Linked DNA regions of Homo sapiens: all the other regions are linked to region 3. Evidence: promoter capture Hi-C in 16 types of primary human blood cells and fetal thymus (Javierre and others, 2016). All regions are on one chromosome and are shown on one strand. The core of a region is centred on a gene start or on the middle of the fragment in contact, and the rest is flanking DNA. Distances in the headings are between cores, read along the strand shown. Region 1 holds the start of RPS16 (ribosomal protein S16). Region 2 holds the start of FBL (fibrillarin). Region 3 holds the start of HNRNPL (heterogeneous nuclear ribonucleoprotein L).

The links. Contacts are between HindIII fragments. The CHiCAGO score rates a contact against its expected background, and 5 or more counts as called.
Region 1: a contact is called between the fragment with the promoter of RPS16 here and the fragment with the promoter of HNRNPL in region 3, in 1 of 17 cell types (neutrophils). The highest score is 6.2, in neutrophils.
Region 2: a contact is called between the fragment with the promoter of FBL here and the fragment with the promoter of HNRNPL in region 3, in 1 of 17 cell types (neutrophils). The highest score is 9.1, in neutrophils.

Annotation. Positions count from the first base shown.
Region 1 is chr19:39,434,482-39,438,846 of GRCh38, forward strand. It overlaps RPS16 (ribosomal protein S16), which reads right to left and starts at 1,468. Exons shown (of 5, transcript NM_001020.6): 1 at 1,367-1,468; 2 at 1,126-1,227. The coding sequence starts at 1,414. RefSeq lists enhancers at 662-1,241, 2,905-3,673 and a silencer at 1,622-1,721. The HindIII fragment of the contact is 27,347 bases long and covers 1-4,365 here.
Region 2 is chr19:39,843,829-39,848,718 of GRCh38, forward strand. It overlaps FBL (fibrillarin), which reads right to left and starts at 2,551. Exons shown (of 9, transcript NM_001436.4): 1 at 2,463-2,551. The coding sequence starts at 2,472. RefSeq lists an enhancer at 1,356-2,096. The HindIII fragment of the contact is 4,240 bases long and covers 886-4,890 here.
Region 3 is chr19:38,848,277-38,852,983 of GRCh38, forward strand. HNRNPL (heterogeneous nuclear ribonucleoprotein L) reads right to left here and starts at 1,710. Exons shown (of 13, transcript NM_001533.3): 1 at 1,424-1,710. The coding sequence starts at 1,690. RefSeq lists enhancers at 1-909, 748-837, 910-1,847, 1,998-2,087, 2,418-2,487 and 1 more and silencers at 1,038-1,577, 1,588-1,847, 3,568-3,947. The HindIII fragment of the contact is 20,955 bases long and covers 1-4,707 here.

The sequences.
Region 1 (4,365 bases), core at 218-2,717, 590 kb after region 3:
CAGTGACAGCCAATAACAGTAACATTCAACATCTGCTACACAAAGGAAATCTCAGAATTTTTATTAAATTCTAGGCCAGGCATGGTGATCACACCTGTAATCCCAGTCCAGGCAGAAGGATCACATGAGACCAAGGACCAGCCTGGGCAATAAAGTGAGACCCCACGTCTACAGAAAAATATTTCTCAAATGAGCCAGGCGTGGTGATGTGCCTGTAGTCTTGGCAACCGAAAGGCTGAGGTGGGAGGATCTCCAACTCAGGAGTTTAAGGCTGCAGTTCATTAGGATTGTGCTATTGCACTCCAGGGTAGGTGACAGCAAGATACTGTTTTTAAAAAAGAACCTTATAACTCAAAAAAAATTTTTTTAACTGACCCTGCAATGTAGATATTCTTTCTTTTAAAAGTAGTAGAGTTCAGAAGGGGCAGAAATCAGACTCTGGTTTCTTTCCATTCTGAGCCAAAGAAATTGAGAGTCCCAAAAAGGGAACAGAGGAACCCCTTTTACAAGCAAGCATTTAAACAGACCCAAATTCGGCCGCACACGGTGGCTGACGCCTGCAATCCCAGCACTTCGGGAGGCCGAGGCTGGTGGATCACCTGAGGTAATGAGTTCGAGACCACTCTGGCCAATATGGCGAAACCCCGTCTCTACTAAAAATACAAAAATTAGCCGGGCGTGGTGGTGCATGCCTGTAATCTCAGCTACTCAAGAGGCTGAGGCAGGAGAATCGCTTTAACCCGGGAGGCGAAGGTTGCAGTGATCCGAGATCGCGCCACTACACTCCAGCCTGGGCGACACAGCGAGACTCCCTCTCAAAACAAATAAATAAAATAAAAAATAGTCGGTGTCCCTTCACCCTTTGGGTCCCCCCGCCCCAGTGAGGTGAGCTTCCTAACATCCCAGTTCTCAAAGCAAACCCTTAATCTTCAACAACCCCATCTCAGCTTTTACATCTTCTGAACCCCAAGCCCAGCTCTATTGCCAAATACCCCACTGTTCTACACCCAACACAACTTCTAAACATCCCGTTGCTGATGCCAGCCCCCCCAGCTTTCAAGAGCTACAACATCTCTGTCTCCAAGAGTCCTCCATCCACTCAACGCCGGTGCCGGATCCCAGCACCTTGTACTGTAGCGTGCGCGGCTCAATCATCTCCAGGGGCCGCCCGTTCACCTTGATGAGACCATTGCCGCGTTTGCAGTGCGCCACAGCTGTCGCTGTCTTCTGTAAGATACAAGAGAAACAGGGGCCCCGTGAGCTCCGGCTCCAGCTCCCATGTTACCCCCTAGATTCCTGCCCACCGACCTCTCCCAGACCCTGGCCTTCTCCTTCCCCTCCCCTTCCCATCCGGCGTCTGGCTCACCTTGCGTCCGAAGACCTGCACAGACTGCAGCGGGCCCTTGGACGGCATGGCTCCGAGCGTGGACTAGACAACCTCACCGCGCGGCGCCGCAACCGGAAAAGGAAAGCTAGGGGCCACCCTGGCCGCTTTTCAGGGTCTGCGCAGGCGCCTTGAGCACTGCGTCGCGACGGGAGAGAGCTTTACGGCTTCTGTTGCGGCTAACGGGCGGGGCGTCTGGTCAGCGGCGGGAAGGCCCTTAGGCGCTCAGAGCGGGCGGGCCCTGTGAGGCGGAAGTGGCGGGCTCTGTGGGCGGAAGGGGCGGGGCCTGGGAGTGTCGTGTGCGGACTGAAGGGAAGGCTGCGGGAGTGTGCTTCGCGTCCTCTGTAGTCGACTACCGCAGCTCTTCTTTGCATTCTGGCTCTTTAATAATCTCCCTTCGCCCTTTCTTTAAATCAGTTCCCACCCTCCCAACACCTGTAATCTTTCTCCCCTCTGGACTCCCTCCTCCCCGAATCCCCCGCATCAGAATCTTCCTTTGGAATCTACTGCAAGAAATCTGGCTGGATTCTCAGATTAAGGACTTCCAGAATCCTATCCTCCCTAGAATCCCCCTCCTTGGGGATCCTCTCCCAGAATCCTTTTCCCCTCAGAGCCCCTTCCCCTCAGAATCTCCCTTTCACCAGAATGTCCTTCCTTTCAGTTTCCTCTTCCCAGAATGTTTCCCATCCTTCTCTCAGATGGCCAACCCCAAATGTCCCTCTTAAGAGTGCTCAACTTAGACCCCCCTTTTCCCTGAATCTCCCTCCATTCGGTCCTCGTCCCCTCAGTCACCCTTCCCAGAATCTTTCTCTTGTCAGGACCCAGTACCCCTGGAATCTCCCTCCTCCAGAATCTCCCTTTCCCGGCAAATCCCCCTTTCCCGGCAAATCCCCCTTTCCCAGAACACCCCGCCCCGCAAATCCACAAAAACTTTTCTCTCAGAGACCCGTCCCTCAAAATCTACCTTTCTCCTGAGTTTATTTCCCTTCCGAGACTCCTCTTCCCAGCAACTGCCTTCCCTGGAGTTTTCCCTCCGTTAGAATCCCCCTCTCCTAAGAGACCCTCCCCCAAGAATTAACCTCTTCCCCGTCCCCACCCTAGAATCTCTCTCTTTTTTTTGAGACGGAGTTTCGCTCGTTGCCCTGGCTAGAGTGCAGTGGTGCGATCTCGTCTCACTGCAACCTCCGCCTCCCGGGTTCAAGAGATTCTCCTGCCTTAGGCTCCCGAGTAGCTGGAATTACAGGCGTCTACCACCACGCCCTGGTCGTTTTTTGTATTTTTAGTAGAAATGGGGTTTCACCACGTTGGCCAGGCTGGTCTCGAACTCCTGACCTCAGGTGATGTGATCCGCCTCAGCCTCCCAGAGTCCTGGGATTACAGGCGTGAGCCACCACGCCCGGCCGAATCTCTCTGTTTTTTGTTTTTTTTTTTTCTTTTTTTTGAGACAGAGTCCTGCTCTGTCGCCCAGGCTGGAGTGCAGTGGCATGATCTCTGCTCACTGCAACCTCTGCCTCCCCGGTTAAAGCGATTCTCCTGCCTCAGCCTCTTGAGTAGCTGAGATTACAGGCATGCACCACCACGCCCGGCTAATTTTTGTATTTGTAGTAGAGACGGGGTTTCACCATATTGGCCAGACTGGTCTCGAACTCCTGACATCAAATGATCCACTCATCTCAGCCTCCCAAAGTGCTGGGATTACAGGCGTGAGCCACCGCGCCCAGCCCCTAGAATCTCTTTCTCCAGAATCTCCCAGTCATCTTTTTCCTCTCCCCCAAATCACCCTCCACTTAAGCCTCCTCCCCACAGAATTCTCCATCCCCAGCCCCCCAACCCCACCTGAGGAACCCCAGGATTGGGTTGTCCTCTGGTTCCCCGGCAGATGTCCCTGCGTCTCACCCCATCAAGAGTCTCCCCAGCGAAGAGGTTCCTCTCTCAGAGCTAGAGGGAGCCCACAGTTGCCTCAGTTTCTCTGGCAGTACAGGGTCTGGGATCCAGGGTTCAAAAGGGCGTCGTGGTGCACCTTGCCAAAGAGGGTGGAGACAGGGAGACACTGGAGGGCAGGTCTGGGGCCAGAGGGAAAAGCCAGCCCGGAGTCCAGCTCTAAAAGGGTGAGGGGGGAGGGGGCTGTTGGGAGGGAGGAAGGAAGTACCCAGAGGCTGACCGGGAGGGACACAGACACAGCCCAAAGAAATGTAGGCACAAGTGGAGAAGAAGAGAAAGATGAAAGGCCAAGGGAGAAGAGGAGGAGAAAAGGGAGAGACCAGGACAGTCAAGAGATGGACCCCCAAAACAAGCCCAGTGACAGATTTAGAGGCAGAGAGGCCAACCCTCAGACAAAAAAGAGATAAAGGCAGGCATGATGTTTCCAAAATACTTGAGACAGAGGCCAGGTGCAGTGGCTCACACCTATAATCCCAGCACTTTGGGAGGCCAAGGCAGCAGGATCACTCGAGCCCAGGGTTCAAGACCAGCCTGGCCAACATGGTGAAACCCCGCCTTTACTAAAAATACAAAAATCAGCTGGGCATGGTGGCAGGTGCCTGTATCCCAGCCACAAGGGAGGCTGAGGCAGGAGAACCGCTTGAACCCGGGAGGCGGAGGTTGCAGTGAGCTGAGATGTCGCCACTGCACCCTAGGCTGGGCGCCAGAGCAAGACTCTGTCTCAAAAATAAATAAATAAATAAACTCTGTCTCAAAAATAAATAAATAAAATAAAATAAATAGAGCAGAGACCTCAAATATTCACTTGCAGACACAGATAAAGGCTAGCACAGGTGTTTTCCAATGAAGACACAGGCAGATGAGAGGATGCACACATTCTACCTGTACTTTTTCTTTTTTTTTTTTTAAATTGAGATAGAGTCTGTGTCACCCAGGCTGGAATGCAGTGATGCAATCTGAGCTCACTGCAACCTCCACCTCCCCGGTTCAAGTGATTGTCCTGCTTCAGACTCTGGAGTAGCTGAGATTACAGATTCTCC
Region 2 (4,890 bases), core at 1,301-3,800, 1.0 Mb after region 3:
TTGTACCCACAGAGCACATCACATATATACTATCTGGCACCTACTTTGAACATCATCATTCAAACTCAGGGGTACGCGTCTCCTCTTCCCTCCTCATGTACCAAAAGTACCCATTCCTCAGAAAAAACACATGTTCACACAAACTTTTCCAGTTAGTTCTTTTTTCATCTTTCTATTAAAGATGAAAATGTAACTTTTAATAGCTACTCCTAATTTGATCTTTTAAAATGAAGTTTCCTTTTCAAAACTCTAGAACATAACTAAGAGTTGTTCACTTTTTAATGTTCTACTCCCCCTACAGTCCACTTTCCACACAGCAACTAATAAGTGCTGTTTTTGAAACAGCAACTCAGATCTCAATTTTCTTGCCCAAGCCCTCCAACAGTTTTCCAAAGCCAAGACCTTCATTTAGGGGAGATGCCACAGCTAGGCTTATGAAAGTCTCAACCCAGGCCTAACAGAAAGGAAGTACTGGCATGTGCTTGGGGCGGAGTGGGCATGAGTGTAAACTTTCAATCCCAGATACTCAAAACATCTCAATCCGTTTCAGGTCCTGGAGCTTTTGGGGGAAAATGTACCAAAAGTACCCAGTCCTCAGAAAAAACACATGTTCACACAAACTTTTCCAGTAAGTTCTTTTTTTGGGGGGAGGGGGGTCCATAAACCCCCTGATTTAAAATCTGCTCTCCTTCCACAGCCTTCTCCATCTCAAAAATGGCAATTCCATCCTTCCAGTTACACACCCCCAAACCCTTGGTTATCCTTGACTCCGATCACACACCCACATACAATCTGTTGGTTCTGTCTTCAAAAGCATGTAAAACTGTCAGCATGTCCACTGCTCCCATCCTGGTCCACCACACCATCTCCTAGATTACAGCAACAAGCTTCCCACCAATGTGCCTGCTTCCACTTTTGCCACCCTGAGGTCTTTCACACATCGAAGCAAAAAGAATCCCTTTTAAAAATGTCAGACTGCACCACGCCCCTGCTCAAAAATCTCCCAAAGGGTTCTTTTCTCACTCAGGCTAAAATCCTTACTAAAGAGCTAACACCTGACAACTTTTACAACTTCACATTCTACCACACATGGAGGAAGGTTGGAAGAACGGGTATCCTCCATTTATGAGGGAATCACAGACCAGAATGCCTGCAGGCAAGCCAGGATCTCAGCATACCTGGCCTACAATCCCCCACCCCACTTCATCAAGAGATCCCCAAACACGGAAGAGAAAGGGAACTTGGGAGAAGGGCACAGATCCACAAATCTCCTGCCAGGTGACCCCCATCTCTCCACACAAACACACACACAAAAGAAAAAGAAAGCCTGTACTAGGAAAACAGACCCTTTGGGCCATGGTGGAAATTCTCCAAACTCAATGAAGCAAGTTCTCACACAGATGAGTGCGGGTTGGGCAGGCCAGATGGAGGAAGTGCTCAGGCACCACCGAGAAGGATTCTAATGTTGTTCTCTTTGAGAAAGATAAAGGTAACAATTAGAGCTAATACTATTATATGTCAAGCACTGTGCTATTTTTTTTAACGTCGCTTAATCCTAACTGGCGCCATTTTATTGATGAGAAAACAGAGGCTCAGAGAGGTAAAGCCACTTGCCCAAGTTCACACAGCAGGCTAAGAAGCTGAGCAAGAGCTGACACACTGAACTGAGGCCCTTCTGCTGTCAAAGCCAGGACCCCCTCATCATTCCACCATGAAGGGAGTGGTTTCAGCAGAATCTAGTGGAAAATCTTAAGAATAAAACTACTTACCTCCTGTGACAACCACCCGCCCCACCACCCCAGACTAATGCCGAGCTTGTTAAGTCTCGTCCCGGAGGTGGAAATCTTAATCCCCAAATCTCCACTCCATCCCCGGGGATCCGCCCCACTGTAAGTGCAGAAGGCGGGAAAGTGAGCCGAAGAGCGCCGCACACGGCCAACCGGGGAGTCCTCATCCACTCCGGCCCACTCGGAAAAGCTGGGATGCGGGATAAGGGGATGGTGGTGGTGGCAGCGACAGGGAAGGCAAATGGGGGCTTCCCACACACAGCTCCAGGACCCAAGGTCAGGAACTCTCCATCTCCGACCCAAGCCTGATTCCCAAAACACGCCCAGCGATCCAAGACTCCAGATGCCTGAATCCAAACTCTAGCCCAAGACCCTTGAGTGCCGCCTCCTGCCCAATATCCAAAATCCCTATTAGACGGCCTCAATGAGACGAACCCCACGTCAACACCCCCAATGCCAGGCCCACGGCCTTCTTCGACTCACGACCGTGACCTCTGAAGCCAGTCACAAACCCCTAGACCTGCTGGAATCAGAATCCCCCTTCCCACAGGAGACTGGAACCCGTGCTCAGAACCCCTGCCCCCAGGCCAAGGCCCCACCCCTCCGATTCTGGCCTGGCACCCGGATTCCCGCCCGGCCTCCGTCCCTGACCCCGGACCCTCACCCCAGCCTGACCTGGCTTCATGGCGAGCCCTGGTTTGTGCGGCTCCGGAGTCCGCGGCGTTCACAACTCCACGAGTCCGGGGCTTTCGCACGTGGAAAAGAGCGCAGGCGCGCGGCGACGTGCGCTGCGTGACGCCACCCCGTAGTCCCGCCCCCGGGCCCCTTCCCCGCCCGGAGCTCGGCGCACGCGCAGTGAGCCTGGATTCTCGAGCCTGTCGACACGCAACCCGCTGCCCTCGCTCTCTGCCTTCCCAGCCTTTGCCTGTGCAGCGGTCGCCCTAAACTCGCTTCCGGTTTCCTCTTCCCCAATGCGAGCACCCCAATAATCAGGGCTCATAGCCTTCGCACGGGCTGTGCCCTCTTTTGTATTCCTAGCTAAATCCCTCTGGCCCCTGTACACCCAAAAAGGCTTCCCCAATACATTTCCAGCCCCAAGAACAGTGACCGACTCTGGGCTTCCATTCAAACATCCGAAAAACATTTACAGTGCACCTCGTGTGTACCAGGTGCTGTTCTAGGAGCTGGGAATACAGCGGTGTACGAGACATAAAAATCTCCACTCTCCTGGAGTTCATCTTTTTAATGGAGGAAATAGACACCAAACATGTTGAATGTTTGAAAGCGATAAGTGCTTTGGAGAAAATAACAGCAGGGAAAGGGGATAGAGATTTTGGAGGGCAAATGATTTTTGTTTTTTTGGCACGGTGGTCAAGGAATGCATCAGGAGACTTTTGAGCTAAAGGGCTGAAGGAAGTGAGGAGTGAGGCATGCACCTATCTAGGGGAAGAGAGTTCCAGGCAGGGAAAAGATCTGCAGATGCAGAGGCCCTGAGGAAGGAAAGATATGGGAAGTTGGAGAGACAATGAGGAGGGTGGGTGGGGCAAAGTGAGCAAGGTGGAGAGTAAGAGGAGATAAGGGCGGGTAGCTAACAAGGGCAGATTGTGCGGAGCTTTGTGGGACATAGTGAGGACTTAGGCAGTAAGATGGAACCATGGAAGGGTTCCAAGCAGAGAAGGAATGTGATCTGACACAGGTCCCTCTGGCTGCATGTGGGAAGCAGACTGCAGGAGTGAGGGTGAAAGCAGGAAAACCAAGGACTGGCTGCTGCCGTGAATCAGAAGAAAAGGATGGACAGATCAGAGTGGGGGCAGAGAGCGGCGTCAGGGGTCAACAGATTCTGCTTAAGTATTAAGAATTTTGGGCTTTGTAATTGTGTAATATCAGTATCCATCCCTATATTCATTCTGCAAAGCAAGACAACTGCTGTTATGAGAAGTTACCGAAAAACTCCAGAAGAACCTACCAGTCCAGAGCCTAGATGTTGACTCTGTTCCATTCACTGCTCTATCACTCTAGGCCTAGGACAGCCCTCTGGGTGCCCAGTAAATGTTTGTTGAATGAATGGATGGCCTCATACCGTTGTGAGTTCTCTGTGTACAGTGTTCCAGCTGTGGAATGCCACCAATTTGCACAGAAACATTCCTGAAAGATTGTTTAGATATTATGATGGAAAATCTGCTTAAACTTTTCAGAACCGGTCGGGGCAGTGGCTCACACCTGTAATCCAGGCACTTTGGGAGGCCGAGGCAGGAGGATCGCTTGAGCCCAGGAGCTTAAGGCCAGCCTGGGCTACAGAGTGAGACCTTATCTTTACAAAAAATAAAAAATTAGCTGGGTATGGTTGCTTGCACCTGTAGTCCCAGCTACTCAAGAGGCTGAGGCAGGAGGATCCTTTGAGCCCAGTAGGTCTAGGCTGAAATGAGCCATGACTGCACCACTACACTCCAGCCTGGGTCACAGAGCGACACCCCTGTCCCAAAACAAAAACAAAAACCAAACAAAAAAAACTTTTTAAAAACTATGAGATGAAATAGTTGAGTCTATTCTGGATTTCTAGATGTGCAATGATTCCAGTGGGTCCAATTCCGGATAATGTTACCTATTTCACATGGATTTTACTATTTGCCTTCTAATTAATATTTTTCTTCTAAAGGACAAAAGTACTCAGAGTGCAGTGCAGATTTAGGGGATTCCAGCCCTATTTCTTGGAATCCTGGCACCATCTCCTGCTTCTGAGATACTTTGCCTGCTAGCTTGCTCTGAAGACCTGAAATTGGCTCTATCGGTAAGTAATTAGTGGTGGAGGTGCCTGTTGGTCTTGTGCTGGGGACACAATGGTGGCTAAAACAGCCCCGGGTCCTGTCCTCCTGGAGCTGCCAGTCCAATAGGAGAGACAGACAGGTTCCCAAACAGTGTTGGCCCAGAGGGGTCAGGGCTGGGACAGGCAGAGGGGTAGGAGGGCAATGGGGGAAGCACCGGCAGAAATGGGACTGGGGAGCCCCAGGCAGGGGGCTCAGGGCCAGGATAGGGGAGGCCCAGGCAGAGAGGTGGGAGGGGGATGGAGGAGACACTGGCAGGCAGGGCAGGGCAGGGATAGCGA
Region 3 (4,707 bases), core at 460-2,959:
GAGACGGAGTTTTGCCATGTTGACCAGGCTGTTCTCGAACTCCTGACCTCAGGTAATCTGCCTGCCTCAGCCTCCCAAAGTGCTGGGATTATAGGCATGAGCCCCCACTCCCGGATGGAAAGTCTTTTAGAAAGACCAGAGACTCCAACCCATACCATTAAGAACCGACTGCTCCTTCCTAAGAGAAGTATCTTACACCCACCGACAAAAGCCTCTGGTCATCAGGAGAAAGATTAACTCTCTTCCGCCTCTCCTGGGCTCTGGGGCCGGCCCCCTGTCTGAGAATCACTGGGCAGAAGTGCGTGGAAGGTGGGTAGAATTGGATTCTATTTCAGGAGCGATCCACGCGAACCACAGGGTGAGGCACTCCCGCCAGGTTAGCAGCTCCCACAAATGGGAGTTCTAACTCCAGCCCTGCCCCTCACTAGCTGTGCCACCTACAGTAATTCACCTCATCTCATCTCTCTCCTGGCCCATTTCCTCCTTTGTAAATCGGGAATCCCAGTATCTCCCCCAACCTCAGGAAGCGTTAAGGATTTTCAATTAAGATGTCTTTAAAATGTGTGGGACAAGGCCAAGATTAAAACGCTAGCAACTCGTAACCCCTAAACCCTGGAAAACCCTGCAAATAGGCGGCCCTGTAAGACTTCAAGATTTTGGAAAGAGTGGGGACTGGGCCCCACTCCAAAAGCAACGACTGGTGTTTTCGGAGGGACTGATTACAGGGGGTCGAAATGCTTCCAACATGGCCAGGAAATAGTTTGGTTTATCAAATCCTCGGTACCCAGTGAATCCCCGGAAACTGTAAGCAAACTTGTGATGGTTTCAAGGCTTCGCTCAACTCCTAAAAGGCTAAAAGTGCATTTCACAAGTCCTCTTCCCATTTTCAATGCCTACAAAAATGAGAGCATCTAGGCTCAAACACATCCATTTCTGTATAGACACAAGGCTGGGCCTTAGAGATTAAGCTGCCATCAGACGGAATTCCCCACTCTAGAGAACAAGGCCGCCGCCCACCCGTTCCCGCTCACCAGGCGCTCCCCTAACCGCCCACGAGGCCGGGCGGGAACACTGCGCCTGCGCATGGAGCCAGCGAAGAAAATGATAAAGGGGAAAAAAACCGGCCGGGCCGCGTGCCCGGCCCCCACACGCCAGCCCGCGGCGCCTGCGCACTGGGCCATTCGCCTCACGAGCTACTTCCTCTGCGCTCCCCCACACCCCGCTCCGGACCCCGCGCACGCGCAGGCGCCTGTCCTCGCGCAAACCCCGCCGTTTGCCCAACGGCCGCCCCTCCCCCACACCGTCAACGACGCGATGGCCTGGGCGCGTGCGCAGAGGCCCCCCTCAAAAAATAAAATGCCCTCAAGCTGGGAAATTGTCCCCCAGTTCCCGGCCTTCCCAGCGCCTAGGGCCCTGGCCTCACCCCACCGCCGCCGCCGCCCGCCGCCCCGGCTCCTCCACCGCCACCGCCGCCGCCTCCGTGCTGGTCGCCGGCGTTGTCAGTCTTGAGCCGCTTAGGGGCCCGGCCGCCCTCACTGCCGCCGCCGTAGTAGCGGCCACCGCCGCCTCCGCCGCCCGCCGCCGCCATCTTCACCATCGCTCCCGACCGCCTCCGCTGCTCGTCCGGCTGCTGCCTCTGCTCCAGCCGCCGACGCCGCTTCTCCGCCCGGGGCAGCAGCCTCCGCGACATGGCGGCGCAGAACCCGCCTCCCCCCGCCTCTCATTGGGGGAGGGACACGCCCGTCACCCGCCGCCCCCACCCGATAGGGGGAGCCACTGGTCCCGCCGCGGGGGGAGGGTAGGCCGCCACACGCCTTGCGCGCTTATTGGACATTGCCCACGCCGTTCTGCAGGAGGGCCCGCCCTTGTTTGTCTGAGACACTCCTTATAGGTGGTCGCTTTCTGCCAGTCTTTCCGTCGACCCCGCCGCCTTAAAATAAAATCCAATTTGATAGGTCGGATTTCTGGCGCTGCTGGCCTCCCTAAAAGCACCTGATAGGAACGGCGCTCTAAACCTCCCAAGAATCTCCGCCTCCCTCCCACTTTCATTGGTCTCCTCGCTAATCCGTCAGCACCAGTCACAATGACGACCTTCCCGCGCCACTTCGCAAGGAGACAAGGAAGCCCCGCCCTTTTTTGGTCTCTCTCCAGTGGTGGTTACAGATGCCCATTCTTCTGCGTCTCCACTGATTGGTCAATGGAGAGTGGAGCGCACCCTCTCACCAGATGGTAGGACTGTTGATACGCTCTGATTGGATGAAATGGGGAGCCCCGCCCCAGGGTAGGCGCTCTTTGGTGCAGTATACGAAACGAGCGAAGGCGAGAACGCATGCGCAAATACGCTTTCAGGCACCGCCCAGAGGCGGGGCCCCCTTATGGAGCGACCGCTGTGTGTGCGCCGGAAGGCTAGACCAAGATTGACAGGAACTCCCAGGGTATCTCTGTCGCCATCACTATACCGTGTTCATTTCTACCTCTAGGAGGAATTGTTAAAATCCCAAATCTGAGCCTTTTCCTCAGTAGAAAACCACTCGCTGCTGCCGACTGTCTTCGGACCCTGTCCAGTTCTAAATTCAGCCGCAACCCCTTTCAGTTTCCCTTGGGAGAAGGCTCTTCCGCGCACTCTCCATGTGTGCCCATGCAGTCCCTTCCACCTGCAATAGTCCACTACCCCTCCTGCAGGAGCTAAGGGCCAAGTCATCTTGTCCGTGCGATCTAAATTAACAGGTCCCTGCCATCCCAGACCCCCAGGATTCCCTTCAAAGCCATAACTCGGGCCAGTGGTTTTCACCTGACAGCTCGACCCCTCTGAGCACCACAGGAGGTCCTGGCCCCGACCCTGGAGAGGGTGGCCACCTACCAAGCGCCCAGTACAGCACCTGGCACAGTGCAAGCCCCCTGCACAGGGGAGGCGTTCTTGTGATCTGTGCCTGCGTCGGGCCTTTCTTCCTCAAGGGCGGGGTAAGACCACCCGCACTGCACCAAGAGAATGTCGGAGGGTATCTCCAGACTCCGGCGAAGCCCAACTGGCGGAGCCTGGGGGGTGGAGAGGAGCGCGCCCCAGTTATCACGCGCAGGCAGCGGGGTCAAACGGGGATTAACCCGGGATCCCGTCCTACGGCATTTAACATTATGGGGCTGCCCGCGCAGGGTGTGGGGGGGAACACCTTAGCGAAGCTATTGGCAAGTGACGATATCGCCAAAGGGGGGAAAAGAAATAAAAGCGAAGCTAGCGTCGTGAGAAACGCGGCGGACGCCCCAAAAGTGCTCCAGGACCTTTCTGCCCGGCTGATGGGGGATTTCGAGTTGAGGTCCGGGTGGAAACTAAGTTTGAAATGGAGGCCGTGTGTGGTGGCTCACACCTGTAATCCCAGCACTTGGGGAGGCCAAGGCGGAAGGCTCGCTTGAGCCCCGGATTTCGAGGTTGCAGTGAGCCGTGATCGCGCCCCTGCACTCCAGCGTGGGCGACGGAGCGAGACCCTATCAGAAAAAATGGGGTTTATGGCAATACAAGAGGGGACAGGCCTGGTGGCTCTGCCGGTGAGGGGAAATAAAGTTAGGGGAGGGGGCCTTGCTGGGGACCTCGGTCAGCTCCCCCGGACACCAGGAAGATCCGACCACGCCAACGGAACAGAGACGGGGGCGGGGCCGCGTCTGAAGCACGTGGCCCGCGTGACGGGAGGAGGCCGGGCCGGTCGCGACGAAGGGCGGGGTCGCTCCGTCCCAACGTCAGAGGAATGCGGTGGGGGGAGGGGGAGAGAGAGGGCCCCTCCCCTCCCCGCCCCCGCGGCCGGCCCGGACGCCCCTCGCGCCGGCGCGCACGGCCGGAGCACGGCGGAACGGTCTCCCCGGCGCCGCACGTTCCAGGCCGCCGGCCCGGCCTGGTGACCCGCACCCCCCGCGCTCCCGGCCACCGCCCCGCCCCCACCCCGCTGCTCGGACCCTGGCCCCCGGCCGCGCGCGGCGCCGCCCGCCAGTGCCCCGGTCACCTTCCCGCACCCCTCGCCCCCAGCCCCTACCAGCTCGGCGGCGAGCCTGACCGGCCGTCCCGGATCGAAAAGAGCAGACACTGGGAAGTTTTGGGAGAGGGAGGGGCGGGCCTTAAAGGGACCACGACCTTTTTTCAGCCCCGTGGGGGGAAGAAAAATTGGGGGCAGGGGGCGCGGGAGCGGGGACACGGCAGGAGACCGAGGGTCGCCCCGCGGGGGAATGGAGGAAACCAGGCGAGAAAGGAGCGGGAAGACCTTGGAGCCGCGGTGTTCGGGCTCCGCGTCCCTTTTCCCCAAAAATCCACCCCCGCCCCCCGCAGACGGAAAGTCACGCAGTTGTTTGAGACTCGCGCATCTTTCCTCCTGGTCAGGCAAGTGTCTTGGCTGAGGCAAGTGTTTGGGGTGTACATTGCTCACATAAGGAAATGGGCTGGAGGGACGCAAGTGACTAACCCAGGATGCCACAGCTTGCAAGTGGCATGGCGGGGCTGGTCTGACGCCGGAGCAGACGCATCACCACTGCACTTGCAGGGCTTATTAGGGTGATGGGGTAGGCTGTAGAGATGGGGGGTTCAGAGCAGGGGACTGGAGCCACCCTACCGGGGTTCCAACGTGGAAGCTGCATTTACTGTCTCTGGCCTTAGGAAAGTAACTTAGCCTTCCTCATCCGTTAGGGGGATGGCAGTAGGAGCTTCGTCTGGGTCGTCATGAGGAATGC